4 separate regions of the Homo sapiens genome follow, and all the other regions are linked to region 1. The links are contacts of gene promoters, found by promoter capture Hi-C in blood cells and fetal thymus (Javierre and others, 2016). All regions are on one chromosome and are shown on one strand. The core of a region is centred on a gene start or on the middle of the fragment in contact, and the rest is flanking DNA. Distances in the headings are between cores, read along the strand shown.

Evidence for each region. The method cuts DNA at HindIII sites, captures the fragments that hold promoters and counts their contacts. A CHiCAGO score of 5 or more calls a contact.
Region 2: a fragment that was not itself captured here is called in contact with the fragment with the promoter of CARHSP1 in region 1 in 5 of 17 cell types (monocytes, M0 macrophages, erythroblasts and 2 more); the score reaches 7.1 in monocytes.
Region 3: a contact is called between a fragment that was not itself captured here and the fragment with the promoter of CARHSP1 in region 1, in 17 of 17 cell types (non-activated CD4 T cells, total CD4 T cells, monocytes and 14 more). The highest score is 45.5, in non-activated CD4 T cells.
Region 4: a contact is called between a fragment that was not itself captured here and the fragment with the promoter of CARHSP1 in region 1, in 13 of 17 cell types (naive CD8 T cells, neutrophils, total CD4 T cells and 10 more). The highest score is 19.3, in naive CD8 T cells.

Annotation. Positions count from the first base shown.
Region 1 is chr16:8,867,503-8,870,560 of GRCh38, reverse strand. CARHSP1 (calcium regulated heat stable protein 1) reads left to right here and starts at 1,555. Exons shown (of 4, transcript NM_014316.4): 1 at 1,555-1,595. CARHSP1-DT (CARHSP1 divergent transcript) reads right to left here and starts at 1,280. Exons shown (of 2, transcript NR_186721.1): 1 at 1,233-1,280; 2 at 522-948. RefSeq lists a silencer at 1,233-2,192 and an enhancer at 2,333-2,392. The HindIII fragment of the contact is 19,717 bases long and covers 1-3,058 here.
Region 2 is chr16:8,539,166-8,542,223 of GRCh38, reverse strand. It overlaps a transcript of TMEM114 not described here. Among named protein-coding and RNA genes, the nearest start is that of TMEM114, 50 kb to the left of the region's middle. The HindIII fragment of the contact is 1,990 bases long and covers 657-2,646 here.
Region 3 is chr16:8,566,594-8,569,651 of GRCh38, reverse strand. It overlaps TMEM114 (transmembrane protein 114), which reads left to right. Exons shown (of 4, transcript NM_001146336.2): 4 at 1-152. Among named protein-coding and RNA genes, the nearest start is that of TMEM114, 22 kb to the left of the region's middle. The HindIII fragment of the contact is 2,900 bases long and covers 32-2,931 here.
Region 4 is chr16:8,597,607-8,600,664 of GRCh38, reverse strand. No RefSeq gene overlaps it. Among named protein-coding and RNA genes, the nearest start is that of TMEM114, 8.6 kb to the right of the region's middle. The HindIII fragment of the contact is 253 bases long and covers 1,466-1,718 here.

The DNA.
Region 1 (3,058 bases), core at 306-2,805:
CCTCCCGGGTTCACGCCATTCTCCTGCCTCAGCCTCCCGAGTAGCTGGGACTACAGGGGCCCGCCACCGCGCCCGGCTAATTTTTAATATTTTTAATAGAGACGGGGTTTCCCCGTGGTCTCGTTCTCCTGACCTCGTGATCCGCCCGCCTCGGCCTCCCAAAGTGCTGGGATTACAGGCGTGAGCCACCGCGCCCGGCCTATTTATTTATTTTTAACTTTTTTTCCCCCCCGAGACGGAGACTCGCTGTCGCCCAGGCTGGAGTGCAGTGGCATGATCCTGGCTCACTGCAACCTCCACCTCCCGGGTTCAAGTGATTCTCCTGCCTCAGTCTCCCAAGTAACTGGGATTACAGGCACCCGCCACCAAGCCCGGCAAATTTTTGTATTTTTCATAGACACGGGGTTTCGCCATGTTGGCCAGGCTGGTCTCCAACTCCTGAGCTCAAGTGATCCTCCTGCCTCGGCCTCCCAAAGAGCTGGAATTACAGGCGTGAGCCACCGCACCCGGCCTCAAGTAAATTTTTGTGTGGACAAACATTTTTATTTCTCTTGGGCGCGCAGACACCTAGGAGTGGAGTTGATGGGTTTTATGGAGACTCCAGGGCTCGTGGTTTGAGGAACCGCCGGGCTTTTTCCACAGCAGCTGCGCGGTTGTTCCCACCAGCCGTCTAGGACGGTTCCTTGCCTGGCTTGGACTAGTTGGTTTCGCTGCTGGGCCTTTTCCCCAGTGGCCCCAATAGGGGCTGCAGAGTGAGGCAGGCACAGTCCTCACCGCCGCCTCCGGGGGCCCTGTTGTCCCGGGCGAGCTCCGGGGACCTCTCTCCTTCCCCGCGCCCCTCAAATACCAAGCTGACCCTGGTCCCGGGATCTAGGCTCGCCTTCAGGGGCTGCTCTCGACTGGCCGTGCCCATGGGCTGGTCGCCTCTCTGTGCCTCAGTTTCCTCTCCTGCAAAACAGAGGTAACATTTTTTACCTCCAAAAACAGAGGACTCAAGGAAGGCTAGAAATGAAACAAGAGAAGAGAACAAAATCAAAATCCCCAACGAGAAAACAAAACCCTGTTTTTCTGGTGTGTGTGTGCGTGTGTATTTTTTCTTTCCCTTTTCCTCCTTTCTGTTTTTTGCTTGTTTTCTTCCGTCTCTCTTTTCATTCCTTTATTTCCTTTCTGCTAAAAGTGACACCCTCCGGGATTATACAGATTTTAGAGCCAAAGGCAGGTGGGAGCCGCACCTGGCGCGCGTGGCGAGGGGAAGGAACTGCACGGGCGCAGGGACACAGTTCCCCCACTTTGCAGGGGCGTTTTCTGCTGGTGGGTGCAGCCCAGCTCCGCCCCGCCCCGCCCCGCCCCGGCCCCTACGTCCCGCGCTCTGCGTTCCGCTCTCCCGCCAGTCTAAGGCGCGGACACAAAGGTCCTGTCCGGGCCACTCCCGCCCCGCCCGCCCCCACCGTCCCGGGCTCCCTCCCGCAGCCCCATTGGCCGGGAGCTCCTGGGGGCGGGGATCGGCGCCCCACCCCCCCTCGGGCCACGCCCCCTCCCCAGCTCCGCGCTCTCAGTCGGAGCGAAGCGGCTGGCGGAGCAGAACGGATTGCAGGGTAGGGAGCTCTTCTCGGGGACCCCAGGATAGGCGCCCCTGGCCCGCGGCCCCGGGAGCCGCAGGGGTGGGGCCTCGGCCTCCTCTGCCTCCATCGTCCCCCATCCTGCAGGGTCTTCTAGCTCGGCAGAGGAGGGCTCCGGGCTGGGTTTCTCGGGGCCTGTTTGGGGAACGCGGGTTGCTCCTCCCCAGGGGAAGGGGTGGGTGTGGCAACAGCGGCAAGGATTCTAGGCGGACGTCGGGTAGTACTTCCCGCCTGGCCACCTGTTCTCTGCGTGCAGGGGAAGCTCTTCCCGCCCTCCCCGCTGCTTTTGCCTTTGGGCGGGAGCCCTGGACGGGGGACTCGCCGGGCGGTGGGGCGAGGCGCGGGGGGCGTCGCACGCGGGAAGCAGAGCCACCCCCCGCCGGGCCTGGCCGCGCCAGCTGTGGCTCGAGGTTGGGACGGCGGCCAGGCCCGGCGGGGGAGGTGGGGAGCCGTCCTGGCGCCGCGCGATTAGCCGCATCTGGGGGAGGAGGAGCCGCCGGGCGCGCTGGGCCCGGGTGTTTGCGCCCGGATGGGGGTGGGGGTGCCTTAGGCGCTGGAGAAAAACTTCACCCGCGCCCACAGGCCCCCTTTCCGCAGGCTGCGCTGGCGGTTCAGGTTTGCAGGCCGGAAGTGAAATGTTCTTTTTTGATTTTTAAAAAGGAAGCCTCCGGCCCTATGGTTTTCTGGGGTTGGAGTGGATGTGTGTGCTGGGGGAGGCGGAGACGTCCCGCTCCAGGCAGGGCCTTGGGTCTTAATAGGTGGGGAAATCTCTGCCAAATAGGAGGCCTCTCGGAGCCTCAGTTTCCCCATCTGCAGACTGGGCTCTGACTTCTTCTGGCATGAGAGGGTGTGTGAGAGTAAAAGGAGGCAGCTAGCCCCGTGCCGGGAGACACGTAAGCTACTGTTTTTTAACTTGCTGTTTTGATATTTCTCAGTCTCTCTGTGCCCAGTCTTGCTTGCCCCTGTCATTTGCTGCCACTCTGAAGCCAGAGGGAACTTAGAAAAACAATCCGCTTAGATCTACCCCACGCTGAAAATCGTCCACCGAAGTCCCATTGTCGTCTAAGTCCCCAACTTCTCAGCAGGGCTTCCTGTTATCTTCCGCCACTACCTTCTCCAGCCTCTCTCTGCCTCTGTTCTCCCTCCCTTCGGGCCTTTGGCCCTCCTCTGGGCTCGGGGTCCTCCTTGGAGACCCCACCGCCCTCTGCACTCCCTGGGTGGCCTCGGTGATGACCGTGAGTTCTCGATGCTGGTCCCTTCAGGGCAAGAAAGAGGCGCAGAGCCCGGCTGGGAGTAGATGTTTTCAATGAGCTGAGCTAGGCCTGGCGTGGGGCCATGGGGTGGGGTTGAGGGTGGTTGACGGTGGGTCCCCTAGGTAGGGGATCGGTCTTTGTTCCACCGAGTGGCAAAGCCAGCGCATTTGGTTTGTGTTCCATCAG
Region 2 (3,058 bases), core at 402-2,901, 330 kb after region 1:
GTCTGAAGCAGGAGAAATCTTGGCAGAGGAAGTAGAGGGGTACCTGGTTTCACATCCTCCTTGGTCAAGGGACCCCCCCCCACGAATCATCCTCAACATCTCAACCAGGAAGGGTGATGGGGGATGACTTCTCCAGCCAGCACAATGGTATGCTTCTGCTGCATTTCTGCCTAATGTTGGCGTGCTTTTTCTTGGTCACCATGCTGTCCTGGTGAAAGCTGCCTCGCAGGGTGGTGGATCCCTTAGAGGTAAAGTTCATATGGGGCCACTGTGCTACATCTCTCTAAGCCCTTTGTTCTTGGAAAGAACAGGGGAATTGGAGCCTGTGCTACGTCTTTGTAAGCCAGACCCCTTTGATCCTCACCAGCCTGAACTCTTGGGCCCTGCAGAATTCTAGAATCTTCCCAGTTCCCAAGTGGAACCCTCTGCCAAGTAACCCCATACACAGACAGGCAAGGAATATAGTGGCTTATGTTGGGTTCTCTTTAGTTTATGATTTATTGATGGAGAATATGAAATTTTCATTAAAACAGACTGCTGTTTCTCACTCATTTGTCACATTTTTAATTTGTATTTTAAAACATTAATAAAACTGACACAATTAATTATTTTTCAAAATGTCAAATATATTGAAGATGTGGGACTGGAATGAAGCTTCATGTTGTAGCAGAATGAGGCATTGGTTCAAGAAAATGATCTCCTGGTTACACTGAGATCTTTCCCCTTCCTGAACCTTATGGTCAGACGAATTGTCTCTGATCTCTTAGTAGATATCACTGTTTACAAAGTGCTTTCATTTTTTTTTATCCTGAGATATTATCCAGTAGTGCTTGGGGAGGTCCTGGTTTATGTCTGTGGTCTTAGTATTATTAATAATGTAACCCTGGACTGTCCTCATTTGTATGACAAATTGTATGATGCTCTGAGTCCAGGACTGTGAGGGCTCTTGAGTAAGACATAAGTGGTTCACGTCCTTGGTAGCCACATGACCTCAAGCCTGTTTCCCCATTAGTAAAACGCAGAAAATAATAGCACCAACTTCATGGTATTGTCATGAGTTTAGACGATATGATATAATATGCCTGGCATATAGCAAGAGTTCAATATATGATTGCTGCCACTCTATTTGTGGTCATTATTATCATTAGACCCTGCATGGGGCTGGTCCAGACTTCGCTCTCAGCCTCACCTCACTCTACACTCCCCGTTGTAGTCTCTCTCTGGCAACTCTGGACTTCTTTCAGTTCCATGCGTATGTCTTTGCCACAGGGACTTTGCACCTGCTGCTTAGTCTTTTAACCTGAGTTCCATCTCAGCTCAAACTTTACTCTCCAGGGAAGCCTGCCCTGATACCTCTCATTAGATCAAGTCCTCCTGTTGTCAGCTCTTGAAACATCCTACATCTCTCTTCTGTAACAATTGTCATTGTCAAAATTTAGCAGTTATTCGTGTGATTCTTTGGTTTATGTCCATCTCTCCCACCAGTCTGTAAGCTCCAAGAAGATAGGAACTATGTCTGTCTTTGCTTACCACTGGTTCCCAGTACCTAGTGGAATGCTGAGCTATAGTGAGTGGTCAATAAAAATTGGTTCAGTGAATGAATTGAATTCTACTTCACCTGTTCTTATCAACTCCCAAGTCTCCCTGTCTTTTTCTGTATCTTTCATTGACTATCCAACCTTGGATAAAATGGGTGCTATTATAACAGTAATAATAGCTGAGATTTTTGGAGTGCTTGCTATATACCAGCTATTTTACTTGCATTATTTCATTGAACACTTATGACAATCTGATGAATTCAATGCAATCATCATCACTCTTATTTCACAGTTGAGGAAACTGAGGTTGATATAATGATACCCAGCAGGCGAGCGATCAGCTGGGATTCCTGCTCAGGTGGCTGGACTCCAGAGCTCCTACCTCTATCTGAGACTGTTCTATTCCTCCTATAAACTATTTTATGGAAAAGTAGTTCATCACTGTATCCTTAATCTCTAGCCAAGTGCTATATATATATTTATAGCAATTTGATAAATATGCACTCAATAACCTGATGTTTGAATGAATAAATACATTCTTATTATTAAATACCATATTTGTGGCCCGGCACAGCAGTTCAAGCCTGTAATCCCAGCACTTTGGGAGGCTGAGGCGGGTGGATCACCTTAGGCTGAGGTCGAGAGTTCAAGACCAGCCTGGTCAACGTGGTGAAACCCCATCTCTACTAAAAATACAAAAATCAGCCAGGCATGGTGGCATGTGCCTGTAATCCCAGCTATTCCAGAGGCTGAGGCAGGAGAATCGCTTGAATCTGGGAGGTGGAGGCTGCAGTGAGGAGAGATTGTTTCACTGCATTCCAGCCTGGGTGGCAGAGCGAGACTCTGTGTAAAAAAATAAAATAATTAAAAAAATAGCATATTTGTGAGTTGTAATTTTTTAAAGTTACTTCCATTTTTTTTTTCTTTTTTAGTTTAGGTTTTCTGTTACAATCTGGATATTGCTATGGGACATGAGATCTATATGAACAACATCTGTCTTGCTTGTGGTGGTGAATAAATATTTAAGGATCCCTGGGCCAGTTGCACGCAGAGTGCTTCCAGCTGATACAACCCCGAATCCCAGGATGGGATCTGGAAGAGTGAAGCTTCAGGGGTCATTTTCCTTGGATAAGGGAATTGGAGCGTGGGAGGATGGAAGGAGAGGGTGGTGTGAGCCTGCAGGGAAGATCTGTCCAGGCATGTGAGGCTGCTTGCAGGAGGCAGAGCCCTCCTCTGGGTCTGATGAGGGTCAGAGAGAGAAGGAGGCTTTGCGGAGCTGGAGCAGTCACTCGGGCCAGGGGCAAGTATTCTGGGTAAGTGGGTCTTGGGTTGGGATTCTGCTTCTAGCTTCTCTACCTCCCACCCCTCTATTCCCTTCTCAGAGGAAAAGGACTCCCGAATCTTGTGTCTTCCAGATCACATCCTGGAATTCAAGATTATATCAGCTGGAAGCACCCTGAGGGCAGTTGGCCCAGGGATCCTCAAACGTTTATTCAGCACCGCACACCAGGCAGACGTTA
Region 3 (3,058 bases), core at 232-2,731, 300 kb after region 1:
CCTTCCCCCACAAATCCCCGCGGACTAAGCTTGGGGCCTGGCTGTTATCCTAGTACCTGTGTGCTTATGTCCGTGTGTGTCCGTGTGGCCTGGAGGAGCCCGAGGGAGTGCCAAACCGCTTCGCGAGAAATAAAAACGATCCTTTAATCACACACAGAGCTTTACAGATTGCAAAGTCCTCACGCCCCCTCCGACTTCATTTCCTCCTCACCCATGTCCCTTGGATCAGCTCCTTGGTGGGTCTGGGAAAGGGAGAGGGTGCCCTACCTCCTGGGCCCTGTAATGCGTTCAGCTCTCTCTGGGGAGCTCTGGCCTGGAGTTCCTTTTGCTCTAAAATAACTCTGGCATGACATGGGCTTTCTACGGGGTCAGGTTAGGTCTACAATATGAAGCTGCGAGACTCCCAAGGGGTTGGCCAATTGATAGAGCACTCTTCAAGACTAATCATACCTTTTCCGTCCTCCCCCAGAAAAATCCATCCCTCCTTTCATCCTGGTGTTCTGCCCCTGGGAATGGGCTCCCCATCCGGGTCCCCTGGGGCAGTGCTGTTCACATTTAGCGCGCCCCAGACTCTATGGGCTTGTTGATACTCTCGGGCTGATGCCACCCCCAGGGTGTCTGAGCCAGGAGGCCTGGGTGAAGCCCAAAAACTCACATTTCTAAGTGGCTTCCAGGCGATGCCGAGGCTTCTGGCCCAGAGCCACTGTTTGCATAAATGCCGAGGTGGGGCGTTTATTAAGTGACAGAGAAGGGTTGTCATCTTGCTGCTCTTAGAATCACCTGGGTATCTTCCAAAAATCCTGCTGCTGTCTACATCCTTGATCTGATATTCTCTAGGGCTGGTGTCCAGGCATCAGTGTTTTTTAAGAGCTCTCCAGCCTATTCTAACCCAAAACCATGGCTGAGATTCTGTTCCTGCAAGATTCCAAGTCATGAGATGTAGGGGAGGGCCCGAGGAGCCTTTGGCTTAGGAAACTCTGGGAGGTGCTGATGGTTTGGGGAATACTGGTGTGGATTAAAAGATGACAACACGATTATCAACAATATGGCATCATCGTCTTCATCATGACATCATCATCACCATGACGTCAACACTGTCATCATCATAGCTGACACCCACTGAGTACTTTCTATGCACCTGTGCTATTCTCCATGCCAGTCGGTCAGTCAGTCATTCAACAAACATCATGACATCATCACCACCATGCCATGACATCACCACCACAACGACATGACACCACCATGACATCAGCATTGTCATCATTATAGCTGACATCCACATCTATGCACCTGTGCTATTCTCCACGCCAGTCGGTCAGTCAGTCATTCAACAAACACTCAAAGGAAGGCCAGTACACACCAGCAACTGGGGGGGCAATGACTCCTCCAGACCCAGACCTTGCTCTCTGGGGTGCCACATGATTGAGGAGAGAGAGGCATATGAAATACGTAGCCCGTGGTGAGGACTAGGAGATAAGCAAAGCAGGGTACAGATGAGGAAACTGAGGCACTGGCAGGTTAACATAACTGGACTAAGGGCATAAGGAGAGAAAGGGACGCAACTGGGAGTAAACTTCAGAACTGCCTGATCCCAAGATGGTCCTCCCCCTACTTCCACCAACGCCTGCACTTCTTTACTGGCTGTCTGCTCCTTTCAGGACGTTGCTGCGACGTCCCTGTCTAATCCGGAAAGGCGCAAAAGGAGTGGGTTACTCACATGGCCACATGGGGCTAAATGAGCGCTGTTGGAAAATCAGTTACAATGCTGGGGAAAACAAAGTTTTTGCAAAGTGAGGGCAACCATGCTACCGAAAGGGCGGTCTCTGCTTCCACCTGCTGGTCGTATTGTGGAACTGCTCCAGAGGCAGGATTTGATCCCCAAATTCGTCAAGAGACACGTTTTCAGCCCTCCTAGCGCCCAAGTGCTGGATTAAATACTGCAGGGCCAGAGTTCTCAGCTGGGGCGATTCTCTCCCCCACCTGACATTTGGCAGTGTTTGGAGACAGTTTTGGTTGTTCTTAGTGCGTGTGGGGAGTGGTATTACCGGCAGCTCCAGTGGGAAGAGGCCAGGGATGCTCCTCGCATCCTATGATGCTCAGGACATCTGGTCCCACACGTCCACCTTGGGACATGCTGAGACACTCTGCTAAGCGAGCAATAATGGACAATAACAAACCAAAACATGTGTGCACCTCAGGAACTGACAACACAGAATAAGCTCATTCATTCGCCCATCCATTCATGCATTTGATAAATGCTTGCCAGATACCTACAGTGTCAGAGACTGTTCCAGGGCCTGGGGACACATTCATGGGGGTGGCCAAGAAAATCTCCACCCTTCCTAGCTCACATGGGAACAGATGATAAACCCATGAACCAATAATCTATCTGAGAGATTCAGACAGTGATTAGTGTTATGAAGAAAACAAAACAGGGTGATGAGGCCGGGCGCCATGGCTCATGCCTGTAATCCCAGCACTTTGGGATGCCAAGACAGGCAGGTCACCTGAGGTCAGGAGTTCGAAACTAGCCTGGCCAACATGGTGAAACCCCATCTCTACTAAAAATACAAAAAAAAAAAAAATAGCCAGCTGTGGTAACACGCGCCTGTAATCCCAGCTACTTGGGAGGCTAAGGCAGGAGAATCACTTGAACCCAGGAGGTGGAGGTTACAGTGAGCCGAGATCGCACCATTGCGCTCCAGCCTGGGTGACAGAGTGAGACTCCATCTCAAAAAAAAAAAAAAAAAAAAACCAGGGTGATGGGATGAAAGGTGTCTGGTAGAGATGTGACTCCAGGAAGGACAATTAGAAAGGGCTTCTTGGAGGAGGTGACATTGTGCTGAGACCCGCATGAAGAACCTGTAGGTAGGGAAACTGCAGACCAGGCAGGTGACAGCAGACGCAAAGGCCCTGAGGTGGGAAGAAGCTTCTGTGTTAGAGGGAAATGAAGAGGGAGGGTTGATGGAGAGAAATAGGAGGTGAAGGTAGAGGCAGGGAGAGAGAAGGCAGTGGGCGATGCCCATGGCCCGTGGTAAGGAGGTGCTGATGATTAAGT
Region 4 (3,058 bases), core at 343-2,842, 270 kb after region 1:
GGGGTGGGCGGAGCTGGCTGGAGGCTGACGCTGGGCGTTGATGTGGCAATTCTGGCTTTAACAATCTGTAGAGATGCTGACTCCTGGCAAACTGCAAATGCTTTCAGCGTGGAGGAGATGGGTAGGCTGTCTGCTGTCTGTGGCACTGGACACAGAAGAAGGTGTCAGACCTAATCGTTCAGATTAATACCCGGGTAGCAACAACAGCCTTGAATTTGGAGCTAGGCCTGTGTTTAAATGCCAAGTCCATGCCTTATTAGCTGTGTGACCTTGCTGGGTCAAACTCTGAGCTGCCGTATGGCGTTTCGTAGGAGAGGGACTTGAGCTAATAGCTGGAGCTAATGTTTACTAGCTGTTTTTATGGGCTGCCTGAGACTCTGCTCAGGACTTGGCATGAGTGATTCCAAGTCATGTCCTTATAATCTCACAGTCAGGATTGTCTTTATGTCTTCTCTTCTTTCACTGTAGCCTTGACCTCCTAGGCTCAAGTGATCCTCCCACCTCAGCCTCTTAAGTAGCTGGGACCACAGGTGCTCACCACCACGTCCAGCTAATTTTTAAATTTTTTACTTGTAGAGAGGGGGTCTTACTATGTTGCCCTGGCTGGTCTCAAACTCCTGGGCTCTAGCCATCCTCCATGCCATGGCCTTCCAAGATCCTAGGATTATAGGTGTGAGCCACTATGCCCAGCCTGTCATATATTGTCTAATTTAATTTCGACGATAACTCTGTGAGTTTGGTATCGTTACTTTCATTCTTCTGAAGAGGAAAATGAAGTTCAGAGAACTAAAACTGTTGATCAGTGTCCCTTGGCAAATAAGGGGTGGAGGTGGCATTTGAAGTGAGGTTTCTTTGATACTTCAATTCTTTCCACTATATCTCTCACATTAAGCTATTGTCAGGCCATATGAGTTAATATTGACTGAGGCCAGGCCCCGTGGCTCATGCCTGTAATCCCAGCACTTTGGGAGGTCGAGGCGGGTGGACCCCTTGAGGCCAGGAATTGGAGACCAACCTGGCCAACATGGTGAAACCCTGTCTCTACCAAAAATACAAAAATTAGCTGGATGTGGTGTTGGGTGCCTGTAATCTCAGCTACTTGGGAGGCTGAGGCAGGAGAATCACTTGAACCGGGGAGGCAGAGTTTGCAGTGAGCCGAGATCACATCATTGCACTCCAGCTTGGGCGACAGAGCGAGACTCTGTCTCTAAATAAATAAATAAATATGGACTGAGTATCTCTTACATGTTAGTCTTGCTTTATGCTCTTTTACCGAAATGCATGAAACCAATCCCACATTCAAAGCATGGCTTTGAAGTTAGACAAGCTTGTGTTTGAATCCTGGATCCTGTACTTAATAGCTGTGTGATATTGATTCACTTACTCAACCTCTCTGAGCCTTGGTGTTTCTATCTGTAACATGGTTGCATTAGGCATACTTTTCTCCCAAAATTGATGTGAAGCTTCAAACAGGAATGTGCCTGATGTGCCTGCCCCATTGTCACAATCCAGCACATATCAGCTATCACTGGAATAGATTCCTAGAGAAGGGCTTTTACTAGCCCCTCTTACAGATGAGGAAACTGAGGCCCAGAAAGGAGAAGTAACCAGATCAGGACCTTTCAGCAGGCTAGTGGCAGAGCTGGTGCTGGAACCCAGCTGTCCTGGTTCCTGGTCTAAATTCTTTCCCTTCGGCTGTGTGATACCTGAAAGAAGCTTCTCTCTGGTTGAGGATTTTTATTCCAATTTGGGAAGAAGTTTCCCCAAAGAAAGAGAGCTCAGACCCAGGCTTTAATCTCTTGGTGTTATGCCAGGTGGGTAATGGCAAAATTAGACCAGTGGGTTACTGATCTCTTTTCATTTTAAGCTAATTACATCACCTAGGGTATGGAGAGTGGCAGCTAGCTCTTCTAGATGTCCTTAATGGACGGATAAAGGCTTTACACTTAAATGGTTATGCACAGGTCAGGTCCAGGGAGTCCAGTTCACCAGCAGAACATCATGACTTCATGAAACTTAATACAGAGAGGAGGCATTTCTCTCTAGTGCAGCAATCTTAATAACTGTACCACATCCCAGCTATATTTCTAAAGCCTTCAGCTGGTTCCTTACAGTTCCTTACAGCCCCACAAAATAAGCTCTGTGCTTGCAAGAAGAGACTTTTTGCAGGATTCGTTTATTAAATCAACAAATTTCTATTACACACATACTGTGTGTCACATACTAACCCCGAAGCCAATGATGCCCATTGGATAGCACCAATGCAATCCCTGTCTGCATCAATTCACAATGCATTCCGTTGCAAATAGCAGACAACTCTAAGTTAATGGCTTAATAGATAAGGGTTCATTTTTATCTTGTAACAAGAATTCTGGAGGTAGGCAAATCAAAGATGGGGCAATGATACTATTGGGTGTTCATATGTTCAGTCAATGGAGAGTTGCAAAGTTCAATGATACTATTGGGTGCTCAAGTCTCTGCCGCTTTCTGTTTTTGCCATCACGGATGGTTTATCCTCGTGTTTGCAAAATAGCTGCTGCACTTCTAGACATCACATTTACATTCCAGATGGACAAAAAGCCTTCTCCCAAGGCCTTGTCGTTTTGCTTGGGGGAGCCATTCCCAATAGACTCTGTGTCTATCTGATTGGTCTGAATTATGTCACATGGCCACTACTGGCTGGAACGGATCTAGAAATGTGAAAGGGAAGTGAATCTGAATGGTGTTGAGTGAGCCATCCTATAGTATCTAGCATATTGCCTGAATGAGGTTTATAGTCCAAAGGAGCAGACACGTAGCTAGCAAATAACTTCATTGTTAAGTATTCCTTAATTACTATTAGGAAGGTCTCTTTGAAGGTGTAAGAGTGCTAGATAACAGGTCTTAGGTTGGGTTTTTTGGAAGTAGACCCTGAGATAAGGATTTAAGGGCAAGTAATTTTTTTTTTTTTTTTTTTTTTTGAGATGGAGTCTCGCTGTGTCACCCAGGCTATGGTGCAGTGGCTTGGTCTTGGCTCACTGCAATCTCCACCTCCCAGATTCAAGCGATTCTTCTGCCT